Regions from separate parts of the Homo sapiens genome. Here region 1 is linked to region 2. Evidence: promoter capture Hi-C in 16 types of primary human blood cells and fetal thymus (Javierre and others, 2016). All regions are on one chromosome and are shown on one strand. Each heading gives the region's core, a stretch centred on a gene start or on the middle of the fragment in contact. The rest is flanking DNA. Distances are from core to core; before and after follow the strand shown.

The links. Contacts are between HindIII fragments. The CHiCAGO score rates a contact against its expected background, and 5 or more counts as called.
Region 1: a contact is called between a fragment that was not itself captured here and the fragment with the promoter of CALCRL in region 2, in 1 of 17 cell types (total CD4 T cells). The highest score is 5.1, in total CD4 T cells.

Annotation. Positions count from the first base shown.
Region 1 is chr2:183,243,466-183,246,238 of GRCh38, reverse strand. No RefSeq gene overlaps it. Among named protein-coding and RNA genes, the nearest start is that of NUP35, 120 kb to the right of the region's middle. The HindIII fragment of the contact is 1,381 bases long and covers 631-2,011 here.
Region 2 is chr2:187,446,901-187,449,700 of GRCh38, reverse strand. It overlaps CALCRL (calcitonin receptor like receptor), which reads left to right and starts at 1,449. Exons shown (of 15, transcript NM_005795.6): 1 at 1,449-1,662. All of the region lies in intron 2 of CALCRL-AS1 (CALCRL and TFPI antisense RNA 1), which reads right to left. The HindIII fragment of the contact is 1,657 bases long and covers 1-1,553 here.

The DNA.
Region 1 (2,773 bases), core at 72-2,571, 4.2 Mb after region 2:
TTTTTAGACTACATATAGAGTATATATTTATAGGAAGAGAAAGCGTAGTATAACATATATATGCGTGTATACATATTCATTATACATATATATACACATATGTGTGTACATACATGTATATTTATTTACTCTTTATGTAAAATATATCCTAAATGACAAATAGTAACTCTTTAAGAATTTTTCTCAGTGGGACTTAGAATAAATTGGCAGAGTTTATGGGTCACTCATAGAGCAGAAACCAGAACCGTGCTCCCAGAGTGCCAGGAGAATTAGCAGAACCTTAGACGAAAGTGAACCTTCTGAGAAGGTTCTGAGAAGATGTAACACAAGAGGCCAAGAGTTTCAGCCCTAGCAAAAATTCCCACTCTGAGCTTAGTACAAAATGTATAGAGCTACTCTCTTTAAGGAATCAAATGGGATTGGACTGAAGAGCAAAGGATTGCCCCCCAAAAGCTATGAATGCATTAATTCAAGTACTGTGGACAAAATTTATACCTGCTTCAGGTATTCCCATATTTATTTGACTAAAGCTGGAATGGTCATCTACAACAGAAGGAAGCTTCCCTACTGTCTGAAGTCAGTCTACTGTAGAAGTAGAAGTAGAAGTCTGTCTACTGTACCCTGCAAGCTTACACAGTCTATTAAAAAGGGTTGAGAAACACTGGCCTGACATATAAATTCTCCCCTCCCAAAAGAGTTATGAATATGTGTGGATGATAAATTTACATATCATACCCAGTTATAATAAATTGAATTGTACTTTGACCATTTAATTCAATATTAAGTTGGCTAATTTTGAGAAGTGGAGTATTCTCACCTTATAAATTAATATTTAGAACAGATGAAACTGATTGAGCGTTAAAGTAATAGTCCTCTCAGCCCTGCTTTGAGGACACCAGGAAGCTATATAGAAAGTTTATCAATCTGTGAATTGCTTTTTATATAAATTCAGCTTTGTAACTATAGATTATTCAGTAAATCTATAGATGAAACCATAATAATGATTAAATTGTCCTATAGATTCAAAATCTGTGCATATGGGAAAAGAAAGTAGGTGACACCATTTAAAATATCCACTTATGAAAAGTAGTTTTTGAAATAACTGTTACAGAAAAGTAGGAGTCATATATTGCAGAAGTTAGTTAAATGAATCTTGATGGGATGGGAGTCAGTCACTAAATAGGATAAGGATAGCAAGAGGAGAGGGAAGAGAGCTCTGTGTGCTATTAATCTCCCTAACCAGATGTCTTCATCTCATTGGAAAACAGGTACCATGGTGTTTTATGTCAAAAAAAAAAAAAAGTGTGGTTCTTTCTCCATCTTTCTTTATTATGAGCTAAAAAGGGAAAAATTAAAATACCAAAAATGAAATTTTGGAAATCTAACCAAAAAGTCATTGTAGTGTGGTGGAATACATTTTAGATAAAGAATCAAGAGACCTGAGCTCAGCCCTGACACAGATCCTTCCCTTAAAACAGTCAATTTTCCCTGGTGAAAGAATTTCACTCAGCTGTCGGTAACTATGTGGGAACCTAGCTCTCTGGCCTGGCCTGCTTGCTCCACTGAGCCTCCTGCTGGGCCTTTCCATCTGCTTTCTCTATCAGCAGGGCTATACCAAATTAGCGAATTTTATATGTATCTGAATCTCCTCCTTGCAAAGAACCAGGTGAGCCATTAAGGGTGCCATCTGTTTGGGTCTTCTTGTACTCATTCATCAATATTTACTCAATTGAGCATCTACTGTGTGCCAGGAACTCTGTTAGGTGCTGGGAATACAGAAGTAAACAAGACAGACACAGTCTCTGCTTTAATGTGGTTTACAGTTTAACAAGGGAGGCTATTATAATTGTGATATCTGCTACAAAGAAAACTACAAAAATATAACAGAAGTGCCAACTGTAATTATAAGAGCTACAAAGGAAAACAATATGAAGACCAGTGCTTTTGAAACTAAAGTTGCAAATCATTAGTGAGTCATGAAATCAATTATGTTAGCCAAGACCACCAAGCTTTTATTTAATGGAATGAATTGAGATAGAAATAAATAAAAAAAGGAAATATGAGAGTGTATCACATGTAATAAGGGAAAGTACTGTTTCAAGAATTTATACATAGATGAATGCTGGAATGGGATTTAAAAACGTATTTATTCCTCTGGGTTGTGGTGGAAAAAGTTTTAAGGCCATGGATTTAGACACAGCATAGGGACTGTAATAGACACAAGTATGAATGTCTACTCAAACCACAACTACTTCAATAGAGACTACCTCATTCAAGTCTGCATGACCATACTTGTTAATCCTTGAACACATCAGAGTAGTCAGGGAGGGGCTCCTGAGCTAAGCTCAGCTGCATATTGCTAACAATTAATAAGATTTATCTGTAAGGATTTTAGAATTGAGGCACTGGAAGTCTGAGTCCATCTGACACAAGGATTTAAGCTAAAAGATCATGTATCGTCAATGTTGAGATGGCCGTATAGCCTTCTGTGCAAGAGGAATATACTCAGGAAACTAACTGTGAGAAAGAAGAATGGAGAAAACACTGAAAAAGAAGGAGCAAGGAAACTCAGTTCTTGACTTCAGTTATAAAAGCCCAAATCTTCATTTGCTCTTCTCAGATTCATAAGATCTTAGCATTTTTCAGTAAATACCATCCCCCCTTCAGTTGAGCTATTTGAATAGGTTAATTTTTGTACAACTAAGAATCTCCTCTAGGAAAAAACAATTGGCAAAAAGTTTATGTTACCTTCTTTTTAATGTCGGTAACAATG
Region 2 (2,800 bases), core at 200-2,699:
ATTTTTTATATGTCTGTATTTTGTAATCAATATTGATCTCACTGGTCTTAAAATCAAAGATTGTATAAACATTTTCTTCCACTAATTCAGACAATAAAAATGTCAACATGAGCACCCTGCTTTAAAAACATGATATTCCTGAATTTATTTTGCCTTTACCTCCTTTGTCTGCCTACAAGGTGTATGGCACCTCATTTTATCCTGGAATTGCACTAACAATTTACTAAGAGTTGAATGATCCTCACCGTATCTTATCTATTTCAAAATGTTATGAAATTTGTCGATTCAAAGCCTTAGACATAAAATCTATCTCTTCTAGTTTATAGATGAGAAAATTTATGCCCTGATAAATTAAGTGACTTTTAGTGCTGTTTAGGTTATAGGGATTATAATTATTGCTTCATATCGAACATTTACCAAATTATAAAAATGATAAAAGCATTTTAAATTTACATTTTCCCCTGATCATATCCAATGATGTATTAAACATATTCAGGAAAAACTATGCTTTGAGATGAAATTTTGTCTAAGAAATAAAGTATCCTTTGTATTTATATTATTTTATAATATTATGTTTACAACATCTATATTTTCTTTAAGATTATATTGACTTACAAATATTGTGGTATAAATTATTTTATATTATAAATAACATAATTATACCAAATATTTTTAAATGTGTGCAATAATTTTAAAATTATGAATTATTCAAAAGGCTATTTTGTCAAATATATATACTTATATATTATAAAAGAAACACTCTATACACACACATACACAACCTGAATTTATAACACATACACTCATGTTCTTATGAAGAAGGTAAAGGAAAAAATAAAAGATTTAAAAACTGCAGGATAAAGTTTCTTGATCTAATTAACTGATTAGGAACTGCACTTAGGAACTGATGGAGGAACAGCACCCAATTAGCAGAGCTCCAAATTAAGAAGAGCCAAATCACAAAACCAGTTATGATGAATACAGTTAATTTTTTTTTCTGTGTTGTGCTATGAACACAGATTTGTTAGATTTTTTTTCCTGGATACTTTGTAAGCTATAATTCAACACACACACACACACACACACACACACACACACACACACGCCTAACTCCTTTGATTCTTTGAGCAGAATACTATATTCAGATTTCCTTCAAATCACAAGTAGCTTGTTTGGCAAGTTCTAACAGAACTCAGTCAAGGTGAAAGCCAGCCAGCTTTTTACTGGTAACAATGTATTCACACAGCCTATGATCTCTCTCTGTTCAGGCTGCTTCTTGCTCTTGTCTCACAATAAGAAAGGAGTGCTGCTTTCCTGGGGTATGCTATTTGAGAAAGAAAGTAACCTAACACTAACTGCAGGCGGGGTCAGAGTGATGTAACAGGAAGCTCTGATGTTTCCCTTCTGCTGCTGATCACTTACAATCTGACAACACTTACAATCTACTCAGAACAACCTCTCTCTCTCCAGCAGAGAGTGTCACCTCCTGCTTTAGGACCATCAAGCTCTGCTAACTGAATCTCATCCTAATTGCAGGATCACATTGCAAAGCTTTCACTCTTTCCCACCTTGCTTGTGGGTAAATCTCTTCTGCGGAATCTCAGAAAGTAAAGTTCCATCCTGAGAATATTTCACAAAGAATTTCCTTAAGAGCTGGACTGGGTAAGTGCACATTCAAAATAAATATATTTATTCTAAGTAGTATTCTCATATAGTTTGGCAATGTTTCTATTATAGAATTTAGTAGATAGCACTGAAATAATGTTGAAACATAGTCTCACTTATTTCACATGCTAGAGAAAATACAGCCTACTACCCCAACATGAATACAAAATCTAATACTACTAGATAATATTGTTTACCATGGTATTCTAGAAAATAAATTTAGCAAGTATTAAAAATCTAAATGGATTAAAAGACATATTTCTGAACAAATACCTTAATCACAGAACAATGTCTTTTAAAATTAGCTCTAATATTAGCTAAGCTTGAATCTTGACAACTGGAAAACATTTCTCCCCCCGGAAGGGTCTTTAAACTTTCCATGTTATCAGCTGTAAGAAAGAGGTGAAAGAATAACTACTTAATGGGTCTCGGAGTCTCACTTACTCTGTGGTTGATCATAATGCAGAGTTTTGAAAAGTAATCACTTTGTATTTATTACATTTGCTTTTATTTGCCTTTCACCTTTATTTACACATATATCTGTAACTACTGAACTAATTTTTGTGTTCATTGTTGCCAGATGTGTTTAAATCTCTCTTCTGCTAACCCTGAACTGTTTGCTCTTTATTTGGATCATGGTGTCGGCTACAAAGAAAAAAAAAAACCTAGAGTTTAGGAAATGTAGATTTTTAAAACAATTCTTAATTTTGAAATCTTTAAGAGAATACTTCAACTTGACTGGTTCCCCTCTGCAAGCTTTTGGAGGGGGGTGTGATACCACGATATCTGTGGATAAAGAAACGTGACAGCTTTCCCAAAGAAGTATATTAGACGATTAAACAAAGAAATTAAAGTATTTATTAAAAAAGAATTTCCAGGATGGAACTTACTGAAATGTTGGATAAAACATCTGTTAATGCTCATTCCGATAGTACAGACTGTCCTGAACAATTTAAGAAACTAATGTCTGCTTAATAAATTGTTTGTGTAGATATATCACAAATTTGTTGCTGGAGAAAGTTTGATGTCAAATTTTAAATGATGTTGATAGATATGATTTTTAAGTTATATATTTTCTTACCTAAATGCAATTATACTTTCCAAGATGTCCTGCATTGGAAGCATCCTGTACTTA